2 separate regions of the Homo sapiens genome follow, and region 2 is linked to region 1. The links are contacts of gene promoters, found by promoter capture Hi-C in blood cells and fetal thymus (Javierre and others, 2016). All regions are on one chromosome and are shown on one strand. Each heading gives the region's core, a stretch centred on a gene start or on the middle of the fragment in contact. The rest is flanking DNA. Distances are from core to core; before and after follow the strand shown. Region 1 holds the start of TMEM151B (transmembrane protein 151B). Region 2 has its middle 7.3 kb from the start of VEGFA.

The links. The method cuts DNA at HindIII sites, captures the fragments that hold promoters and counts their contacts. A CHiCAGO score of 5 or more calls a contact.
Region 2: a fragment that was not itself captured here is called in contact with the fragment with the promoter of TMEM151B in region 1 in 1 of 17 cell types (naive B cells); the score reaches 5.1 in naive B cells.

Annotation. Positions count from the first base shown.
Region 1 is chr6:44,267,115-44,272,795 of GRCh38, forward strand. It overlaps TMEM151B (transmembrane protein 151B), which reads left to right and starts at 3,336. Exons shown (of 3, transcript NM_001137560.2): 1 at 3,336-3,763. The coding sequence starts at 3,629. The HindIII fragment of the contact is 13,529 bases long and covers 75-5,681 here.
Region 2 is chr6:43,760,119-43,765,799 of GRCh38, forward strand. No RefSeq gene overlaps it. Among named protein-coding and RNA genes, the nearest start is that of VEGFA, 7.3 kb to the right of the region's middle. RefSeq lists enhancers at 167-667, 668-1,168, 4,654-5,155. The HindIII fragment of the contact is 1,063 bases long and covers 2,667-3,729 here.

The DNA of each region.
Region 1 (5,681 bases), core at 2,086-4,585:
AAGACAGAAGTGAGAACAGGGTGTTGTGGGGGCACACAGTGGGGCCAGCTACTCAGTGGGGTGAGAGGCAAGGAAGCTTCCATTTGAACTGAGAATGGGAAGGGAAGAGAGATAGGGAGAGGAGAAGGACCTAGTCTGTGGGGGGCGATTGGAGGCAGAAGAGTTGGGGGAGGGCTGAGGGGAGAAGATGGCCCACTGTTCTTCAACCCCATGTAGGACCAGAGTGGGAAAGACGTAATGAGCATGAAGCCCAGTGAGGAGCCACGAGGGGAAAGGCCTGGGAAATTGAAGCATCTCCTTCCCTTGAGTCAGCATGATTTCAGATGTTCTCAGTCTCCTCCCCTGACATGTTCCTCTCCGGTCCTCAAAGGCTGCAGCAAAAGTATAGTAATAAACTCCAGACCCAGACCAACTGGGTTCAAAATTTGGCCGAGCGCGGTGGCTCACGCCTGTAATCACGCCTATAAACTTTGAGAGGCTGAGGTGGGTGGATCATTTGAGGTCAGGAGTTCAAGACTGGCCTGGCCAACATGGCGAAACCTCATCTCTACTAAAAATACAAAAAGTAGCTGGGCCTGGTGGCACATGCCTGTAATTAATCCCAGCTACTTGGGAGGCTGAGGCAGGAGAATCACTTGAGGGTGGAGGTTGCAGTGAGCTGAGATCACACCACTGCACTCCAGCCTGGGCAACAGAGTGAGACTCAGTCTAAAAACAAAAACAAAAACAAAAAAATCCACACGAAATCTGACACTATCATCCCCATTTTAATGTTGGGAAACTGAGGCCCAGAGAGGTGAGTTGACTTGCTCAAGTTAAAATAGAAAGTGCAGAGATGGCTTCTCATCTAATCCAAAACTTTTACATATTTTTTAGTGGAACCTTCTTTTCTTTATCAAGAGGTAAACCACATAGGGTGGGAGTGTCTGAGCCCTCTGCAAGGATGTAAGAACTCAGGAGTGTGCAAGGACCTCCTTTTTATTCATACAGAGGCTGAATTTTAGGAAAAACCCACTTAACCCAGCCAGGTGTTTGGCTCTGAGCCGTAACAGGTGTGTGGCAGTCCCTTTTATGGCCACATGAGGTCAGCATTGAGTCACCCACTGGCCCCACTACCAGAGCTTGCACTCTTGACAGGAATCCTTTCCAACACTCCAGGAATGGGGAGGGGGACCATTGCAGTGTTATCTGAAAGGGTGACCTGGGGACTTTGACTTAGGCCACAGCATGGCTAGGGACCTGACCTCGCCTCCTCAGCTCCAGTCTTCTCTGAGGCTGGGCCCCTCGTCTTTCTCTCTGTTGTTTTCTGGTTCCCTTTGTGCCCCCACTCCCCACCTCCACCCACCCCAGCTAGGCTCATCTTCAGGAAACAGGCCTGGTTTCCATGGTGACCAGCCGGTCAGCTGGCTCCTTCCACCGCCCCCTCCTTCACCCCCCTTTCTTGTAGCTTCCAGGGAAGGGTACTGTGTGTGAATGGAGAAGGCAGGGGTAGCCTTTTGTCTCTTGGGAGCTCTAGCATTGGCCAAAAAGAGCTAAACTGTCCCTCCTCCAAAGCCCTTTGAAGTGGAGACAGGAAGGCAGTGGGGGTGGGTGTCAAGAGGAAGATTATGGTGCCTAAATGGGGAGCACGAAAGGATCCTCTGTGGGTTTGGAAAGGCCAAGGTTAGGGGCTCTGCTCTCTGTGGGGGAAGGGGTTGAAACTGGAACAAGAGGGGCTGGAGTTAGCTGTGAGGCCAGCTTCCCAAAAAGCATGGGCAGGAGATGCTGGAATGAACCACCAAGTGAGATTCTGCCTCTGCCAAGGGAGTGAACCAGACCCCCGCCTCTTCTGGACAGCCGCCTTCCTCTGGGCAGGGAGAATGGACCCATCAACCTGGAGAGGACCATGCAGGCTGGATAGCTCTAAGCAATAGGTGGACAGAGAGCCACCTTCACCTCACCTGGAAAGGGAAGAGTAGTAAAATGAAGGCAGGGCCAGGAGTGGGACTAGAGGGGTGGGAGCAGTGGCTCTCCTGTCCCCAACAAGGGGAAGGAACATCCTGGGCAGATCAGTGTGTTTGTACCCTATCCCCCAAAATCAGACATCGAGGCTTTGCCCCAAACTAACTTCCTACCCACAAATATTCCCCATAGATTTTGAGTGGGAAAGATCTGAATTCTAGGACTAGCTCTGTGAGTGCTAGCAGGTGACCTTGAGTAAGCCATTCACTCTCCCTCTGCCTTGGTTCCCTGTGAGTAATTGGGGAGAACAGTTACTGTATGTCAAAGACTCTAATGACACATAGTAGGATTCCACAGTGACTGTGTATGCACAAGATTGATCATGCATGGCTTTTATTATATTCTTCATAATGGTTGTTTTTCATGTTCTTTTCTCCCCATTAGACTTTGTGCTCCTTGCAGGAAGGAAACTGTGTTTCATTTCTGTACTGGGCACACAATAGGTACCCAACACCTGTTTACTGAATGGAGACATCCAGAAATGAATGAATGAATAAATGTCAGGGTCCTTCCTGCTGTGCCAGGGGATACAGGGAAAAGCAGTGTGGGGTGGATGGCCTGAAAGGATAGGCTGCCTGCAGTGGCTCAGCCTGGCTTGCTTCCTACACCTACAAGTCAGAGCCTTAGAAATTGTCCAGTCAACTTCCTCACTGCACAGATGAAGAAATTAAGGCTCAGAGACAGGAAGGCACTTGCCCAAGGTCACATAACTCCTTAATGACAGATACAGAATTCAGAATTAGAACTCAGGTTTCCTGCCCTCCAGCCTAGGGTATTGCACACACTTCACTGCTTCTCTGGAGCTGTTCTTTTAGGGAAGAAAGATGGTTCAGTGAAGGCCGGTTCCAATGCCCTCCCCTCTGCCCTCTGTTAGTCCTTTCCCACATCTAGCTTCAATCTCTTCCCTTTCCCCCTATTCCATTCCTCTGGAAGTCTAGCTTCTGCCTTAACCCTTCACCACGAAACTGGGAGTAAGGATCTTCCCTAGGGTTCCAAGAATCAATTTCCTCTCCCCACTCCTCTGCCCTGGGAACTTGGGGGAACCAGAGATGTGTGTGTGTGTGGGGGGGTGCTGTTGGTTGAACCTCGGGCACCGAGTCCACGGAGAACAGATGGAGAGGGGTTGCGGCACAGATTCTCCCAGGATAGGAGCGCGGGAGGGAGGTGCAGTGAGCAGGGCTGGGAGCGGGGAAGAGGTGTGGGGAGTCCCTGTTGCTTTACCCCTTCGGGGGGTGGTTATTAGGTAGGCTTGGGAAGGCGGAGTTTGGGGGGCTGGGGGCGGGGCTCGGCTGCGCTGGCAGGAAAGGGGGGGCGCGCTGGCTCCAGCTCGGCTCAGACAAAAGGCGGCGGCGGGAGCGGGCGGGAGGCGGAGCGGCGCCGCGAGGGCCTCAAGGTGACACCCGCCCCCGGCCCCGGCCCCCCCCGGCCCGGCCCCCCAGCCTGCCTCCCACCCTCAGCCCCCAGCCCCTTACTCCCGGTGCCCTTTCCGGGCCCCCTCCCCCGGCGGGGGGTGGGGAGCAGCGAGGGCCCCGCCCCCTCCCGTCCTCTCCCCAGGGCCCGCGCAGGATGCCCCCGGCCCCTGGCAGCCCCCCGGGAGGTCCTGAGCTCGACGCGCCCCCTCTACGCCATGTCCCCCCCTGGCTCGGCCGCGGGAGAGAGCGCCGCCGGCGGCGGCGGCGGCGGTGGCGGCCCCGGGGTCTCGGAGGAGCTCACGGCGGCGGCGGCAGCGGCGGCGGCGGACGAGGGCCCCGCCCGAGAGGAGGTGAGAGTCTAGGGCGCCCCTTCCCCGGGCGCGGCCGCAGCCTGGCCCCCCATCCCCCATCGCACGCGTCCCCCGCTGGTTCCGCCGCAGCGCGGCCGGCGCCCCGCACCCCGAGCCGGCCGCTGCAGCCGCAGTCCGCGCCGCCGCCCCCACCCGGCGGCCGGAGCTGTCCGCGGTGCCGGGGAAGGGGCCGCGCCGGGGGCGGGGCTCAGGGGTCCCGGGCAGGGGGAGGGGCCTAGGGGCGGAGCCTCGCGGATCCTGGGCTTATGAGAGTGGGGGCTATGCTCTACCGGGGTGGGGACGGTGGCGGGGATCCTGTCTCACAGAGGAGGATGCTACCTTGAAGGCCAGGAAGGGCGGCTTGTACGGGCTACAGAACGAGGAGGGTACCATGGGGAAGTGGTGGTGGTACCTGATCTGGGACCCTAAGGAGGTCAGATGTGTACGGGGGGTCCCGCCTGTGGTCATTGGGAGTGTGTGTGTGTGTGTGTGGGGGGGGGTGTGCACCTCTCTCTCACGAGGCTCCTGCTGCTTCCTCATATCCCTAGTTGGGGTCCCTAGTACTCAGTCCTCTGAACCTGAAGACAAAGAGACGGAGGAAAGTACCAGGAGCACCCCCACTCCAGCCTCCCATGCACACTTGTGCACACGCATGCACCCTGTACTAGGGCAGAGGCACACAAGCGGGGATGGGCCTGCAGGTAAAGCCCCTTTCAGAGGTACCCACATGGGGACAAGCACATAACCAGGTAGGCACACGAAGGGGCCCGTATGTTCATACCTCCTAAGGACAAGGCTCCCCGAAAGGCACATGTACCCTAATCTCCTTGTCCACATGTACTGTGTGCTATTTCCTAGCTCGCCTAACTATCCATACTTCTAGATCCAGGGACCGATGCCTATTACTGTACCCTTCTTTTCCACTCTTTTCCTCTCTTTCCTGGCTGGCCTCTAGGTCAGGCCTGAGGAATTGAGGGGGTAAGTCAGGATCCCAGCAGGAGGTTGTGTGTGTGTGTGTGTGTGTGTGTGTGGTGGGGGATGGGTTCCTAAAGCTAGACAGCACAGAGGAGGGGTGGGAAAACAGAGGCCACTACAAGAAATTAAACTCAACACTCAATTAGGATGTGGCTGCTGGGGGCCAGCACCATGGTAGGCACCTAGGATGCAAAGAGAATGAAGCATGGGCCCTCAGGAGTACCCAGTGTAGTGGGGAGCCAGACATGTAAACAACTCCTGGGCCAACCCTGGGACAGAATGTGCCAGGAGCTTTAACAGACAGGCTCCAGGAGAGTACCAAAAATAATTTTCTCTTGATAAATTGCTGGGCTTCAAACGTTGTCCTCGCTACCCCAGTCCCACATCCCCTATGCCTGTCCTCTCCTCAGCCACATGCCTCTGCCCTTCTGGATACCTCCTCCTGGACTGCCTGCCGCTCAGGGACCCCAGCCCCCTCCCTCCCATCCTAGGACAAAGGGAAGGATGTCAGGGTGCAGGAGGGAGACTCACAGGGGAACCAGGGTCCAGAACATGGGGAATGAGACTGGGCCTGGGGTTCTCTGGAGGCCCTTATCCAAAGGACGTGTTAGGCTAATTGTGAGGGTTAGGGAGGTGGATGGGTCAGAGGGGAGTAGCTCCTCTAGAACCTAGGACTGAAAAAAATCTGGAAGTGAGGGCCCCACTTGTTAAGTGGGGAAGTGATGTCAGTGGGTCCCTCCCCCTTTTCTAGAGGACCTGGAAGGGGTCTGGGCTGGGGACCTTCCTTCGCTGATGCCTGTCTGTCTGTCCTCCCCTGTCTTCCCTGTCCACATCTTCTGTTTCATTGCCATTTTTGTGTTTGTCTTCGGATGCTCTCTGGGTACCATCCTATCCATCTGTGTTTGCTGCCTGGGCCTCTATCTCTGGCTCTGATCCTTCTCTG
Region 2 (5,681 bases), core at 1,948-4,447, 510 kb before region 1:
GGAGCTGACATCTTGGCTCACCTTCTCCTCCTTTGTCTTCTCTTCCTTTCCCCCACTCCCCAGCATTTCATCCAAGCCAGAAATGGGCCTAGAAGTCTGTAGAAAGACATCCCGCTGCTATCACTCCACAAATCCTCTAGAGAAGATGAGTTTGGTAGACCTCTGCTTATCTGATTTAAATTCTTCTTGCTGTAATCTCAGCTGTTCTGGTTGGTGGCAATGGGCAAACTCAGGATGTTGGTCAGACAATGGACTGAAGAGTTTACTTTTCTCTGCTTCCCTGCCCAACTGTACTTGAGTAATCTTTATAGTATCTCTAAAAGATGGTCCTGGAATGGTGCTCCCTGGTCCTTCCCTGTCTCTTGCAGTCGGCCAGGACACAGGCGGGAGTATCCACAGCTCTCATTTTACAGCTTCCTTCCCGTTCCCTACAGCAATAGAGGGGGAGCCCTAACGGGGTTTTAGCAATCAGTCCAGCCCCTTCAGTCTGGAAAGGAGGACACTGAGGCAGGGATGGGCGGTGCCTTGCTCCAGGCCACACAACAAGGCAGTGACAGTGGCTGCGTTTGAACCCAGGTGTCCTAACCTCCAGGACCCACACATGGCAATCTGAGGAACTGCTCGGGGAGCAGAGTGCTTAATGACAGGGCTTCAGGGACACTATTTGTCAGAGGGGCTTTCAAGGTAACTCCTGTGGTGGTGTTGGGAGGGGGTGCTCAGCCGATGCCTAGTCTCTCTGTAGCCTTGGTGGGGAGGCCACTGTGACCCAGGTCAGCTTGCCTGGAACAGCTGGGTTTCTGGAAACACTTCTCTCTTCTCTATGGGGCCCTGTCGTGGGTGGTGGTGGTAGACGGGGTTTGTTTGTGTGTGTGTATGTGTGGTTTAGTAGTCCCTGCAGCCTTCAGCCTGGAAAGCTGAGGAGGCATGGAGAGGCAGGGGGTTGGTGGATGAGTGACGGGAGGGAAATGCAGTGGGGGAGGAGATGCCACCGCAGGGCTACGGTCAGAGTTGGTGAAGGGCAGATTCACCGTGCCTCCCTCTGTCCTCCTTAAGACCTCTGGTCATGCCAGGGTCTTATGGAGGGGGCTTGGTGCTCCGCACTGTATTTGTTGCTCTCTCTGGAGTTGCTGTACCAACTCTCCTGGCATCCCGACAGGCAGGAGTATGTCCCATAGCCACAGAAATGCCCTTTTTGCAGGTTCTTCCTAGTTCTTGGAGGGCTAGAAGGAACTGAGGGGATGTGAAGAGCATCTTTCCTCCTAGCTTGTTCCCCACTGCCCAGGCTTGCTCCCCGACAGTGAATGGGAAGTGGGGAGCAGTCACCTTCCCAGGGGGCTCCAGAAAGCTGAGGACAGAGTAGCTAAGCTCACAGAGGAGCACTTAGTCAATGGGACTGACCCAGGAGGGCCCCGGGACAATGGGGCTAGGCAGAAAGGAGCAAGAAAGAAGGAGGCAAGGAGGGATGGAGACATCTGAGGAAAGACAGAGAAGGAAGGGAAAAGGAAATGCTCTGTTCACCCATAACTGTCCATGATCTGGACACTTGGGGTTGGAATTCCACCCCAGAGCTGGGGCTTGCCTTGTCTACCATGTTTTCAACAGTGTCTAGGTCCCATGAGTCCACCGCCTCAGGCCTGGCCTCTGGAATTGAAGGCCTGGTGAGGTACCTGCTATGTTGGGTGTGGGCTACACTTATGCATGAAGATTAGTGGGGAGTCCTGGCCTGGCCTTTCCAAGAGAGGAGGAGGTAGGGAGGCGTGCAGACCAGGGACCCAGACAGGCCTCATTCTCAGCAGGGAGCTGCACATTCCAGCCTAGAGTCAAGAGCGGACTGGGGCAGGGCAGACATTCACCTGGTGTACCCCAGCACGCCTCCTGATTGATTGGTAAATAGCTGTTGTTCCAGTCCTTGAGTTCCCCCTGTGCCTCTCTGGCCACCCCAGTCCCTTACTTGGTCCCCTGGACCTCTCCACCATCCAGAAATTGAGGTTTATGTCTGGCTTGGCATACGCCGTCAGCTCTATGTGAACTGTGCCTGAGCCATAGCAGGTGTTAAATGTTTTGGCCATCATCCTGAGCTCCGCAGGGGCCTTGTGCCCCACAGCTGGAGCTGACTGCGACCAGGTCCTGGAACTTGGAGAAGCTGGCAGCAGGCACAGCAGCTCTGAGCATGCCCTGCCTCACTTCTCCTGATGCTTCCAGCTGTGTTCTGGAAGGAGATGGGTCTGGATAAGCAGGCTGGCATGCAGGGAGATGTAGGCGGGACCATCTCTCCAGGAGACCCCAGTAGGGAATGGTTTAGCTGTGGCCTCTGCAGGGCACTGCCTGGAGTAAGGGAGTGCTGAGCCCCTCTAGGGAAGGAGGAGCAAACAACAGATCCCTGGGTCAGCTGCTGACACACTCCTATGCACGCGGCATCTAGTTCTAGCACCTCCTCTCTGGCACTGCCTGGCTCCCCACCCAGCCAGTCAGCTCTTAGAGGCAGAAGCCCAGTGTATCCCAAAGGTGCCTGGCTCAGTGCTGGGCCCCGATTAAATGATGAAGTGGCCTGGGGAGGTAGAAAGAGCCCCAGGCTGTGAGTTGAGTGATCTGGGTTGAGGTCTTGACTCTATGCAGCGCTCCGGCTTTGGACAACTCTGGGCTTCCTTCTGCTCCTCTGGCCAGTAAGCTTCTTTAGCAGTGGAAACTTTTCCTCAAATGAAATTCCAAGTGAGGGGCCAATAAATGAAGCAGATAAAACTGCATGTACTGTGTTTGCCCACTCCCACACCTTCCTGCTACCTGTCCCATCTCTGAGGACCCTCAAGACTCCTAGGAGCACAGTCTGATGTTCTCCTGACATGGATATCCTCTGACTAATTGCCTGCTTCCCTGAATATCTCGAGGCTATTGGGCCAGGCTGATCCTGGAAGCTGAGGGGAGGCCTCCCCACTCCTCATGCCCTGTACTTCTGGGTCTGGGAAAGCAGGGAGTATGGTGGGACTTTGAATCCAAAGTCCCTGTACTTTCCACTGCCCTACCTAGATGTCCCTGTACCTCCTGTAAAATCAGCATAGAGCCTGGTGCCTGGTAGTCCCTACAAATATTCACAAATTGGAGCTTAGCTCAGCTCTCAGGGGGCCAATCAGGGGGCCAATCATTAACTGGCTTTATCTTTGTGAACCATCCTGGGGGGCCCAGGTCATCGCCCCAGCTTCCAGCCCAGGCCCAGGGGGCTGCTGGGGGAAGGGGCCCTTCTTGCTGGGAGGTAGGGGGCGCCTTGGGTCCCTGCCTCTTTTTTTTCCTGGGACTTCCCCGAAGGAACTCACATTGCAGTCAACTCAGTGACAACCTAGTTACATAGTTGCTTCAAATAAAGACTAAAGCAGGATCCAAGCCAACAGATCCCCCAACCCCTAGTCATCTTTGGCACGCATTATGTAATTTCTTGCTTTTCTTTTTTTTTAACCAGGGGTGGGGTAAACCCATTTCCCTATTTGTTTCTGTTTTACTTTAGCCAGATGATAGTGGGTTTGCATTCTCTAAGAGTTTGCTCACGAATGGGGGTGGGAACAGGAGACAGGGAAGGGAAAAACATTTATATGATACCTACTCTGGGCAAGGAGCTTAGCTGATGTTTGCTGTTTCCATATATTTCCCTACAACCCTGGGAGGTAAGAACCATGAACCTCATTTTACAGATGAGGAAACTGAGGCTCAGACAAGATAAGTGAATTGTCCAAGTCTCAAAGCTTGGAAGTGTTGAACCAAGATCAAACCCAGCCTGTCTGGCTTTTTCCATTACTCGCTATGGGGGTGGTGGGGTGGAGAAAGGGGAGTGGGTGGGTGGCTGAGGCTTTTCACAGTGAGGGTTCATCAAGCTGGTGTCTTTCCTGAAAGGACAGAGGTCTGGCATCTCAGGTAACAGAGGAAGCGGTTCCCTACCTGCTGGGATTTGAGGGGTTCATAAGAACTGCTTCTCCCTTCCATCACTTGGTGCTGAGCCCCAGATTTCACCACTAGTGCTAGATTTCTTTGAGTTAAGCACTGCCCTCTCCAAGAGGCTTTTAAAACACACAGGCCCTGGAAGATGTGACATTTGGTATCAGTCATCTCATCTGGAGTGTTTGAGGGAGATGTTACAGGCTCACAGAGCCTCAGAGCTTAGGGAGTGGAACCTCATGCTTTACCCAGGAGAAGCCTGAGGTCCAGCAAGGGGAGCTGACTCGGCCAAGGTCACACAGCATGCAACAGACTCTGGAAATTTTTTTTTTTTTTTAGACGGAGTCTCGCTTTGTCGCCCAGGCTGGAGTGCAGTGGTGCCATCTTGGCTTACTTGCCTCCTGGGTTTAAGTGATTCTCCTGCCTCAGCCTCCCAAGTAGTTGGTACTATAGGCATGCACAACCACGCCTGGCTAACTTTTGTATTTTTAGTAGAGACAGGGTTTCACCATGTTGGCCAGGCTGATCTTGAACTCCTGACCTCAGGTGATCTGCCCATCTCGGCCTCCCAAAGTGCTGAGATTACAGACGTGAGCCACCACACCCAGCCAGACTCAGGACTTTTTTGCCCAGTGCTGTTTCGAAGTCGCCACATGCCTGTGACAGGTAGACAGGAGGGCTCTGGGTACCAGGTAATGAAGTGAGGGATTAAAGCTGGAGGAAATGTATCTTTCTGCTTTATGCCTTGGCCCAGCTGAGTGGCCCTGTGCTCGTCACAGGCTGGTGTCCTCTGCTCTCCTCCCCTCACTCCTGGGGCAAGCAACAGTGGTGTTCCATGTGTGAGCTGGACCTACCACTAGTGTTGGCTTGTTTAAATTCTCTGACAGAGACAAACTGTCCCGGGGGGCGGGGAAGGCAGTGTGGAGCTCACCCCCTGAGGGAGCAGCATTGTCTCTGTGGGCTTTGGCTGGGAATGTTTCTGAAGACGCCCTAATCCCTTGCCCTGCCTAGCCTCAAAGTCTCTATCACTCAGAGGAGTACTGGGAGGGCTCAGTGTGAGCCATCAGAACCTTCCAGGGTATCTTCCCTTGCTTGTTCTCTTTGCGCAGTCCACTTGGTTTGCTAAACTCCTGCTCTTCCATCAAGACCCAACTCAAGGCCAGGCACGGTGGCTCACGCCTGTAATCCCAGCACTCTGGGAGGCAGAGGTGGGCCGATCACTTGAGGTCAGGAGTTCGAGACCAGCCTGGGCAACATGGTGAAACACCATCTCTACTAAAAACACAAAAATTAGCCAGGTGTGGTGGCAGGCACCTGCAGTCCCAGCTACTCCGGAGGCTGAGGCAGGAGAATTGCTCGAACCTGGGAGGCAGGGGTTGCAGTGAGCCGACATGGCGCCACTGCACTCCAGTCTGGGCGACAGAGTGAGACCCTATCTCAAAAAAAAAAAAAAAAAAAAAAGACCCAACTCAAGTATCATCTCCAGGAAGCCTTCCCCTACTCCCAGCAATTAAATGCTCCTCAGAGAATTCCCATTTTTGGTTTACTCTTTGGTTTACCTCCAGACAGGAAGCCCCCACTGACACTGTTGTAGTCCCAGGGTGCAACACAAAGCAGAGATCACAAGCTGAGTTTAATAATTGCTTGTGGAATACATGTCCCAAGCCACCTCCTGCAGGAAGCCCTTCCAGATGCCCATTCTAGCCAGTCTGGCTCTTTGCTTCCATACCTTCACAACACTTGTGCCTCCCCCAGGGCCT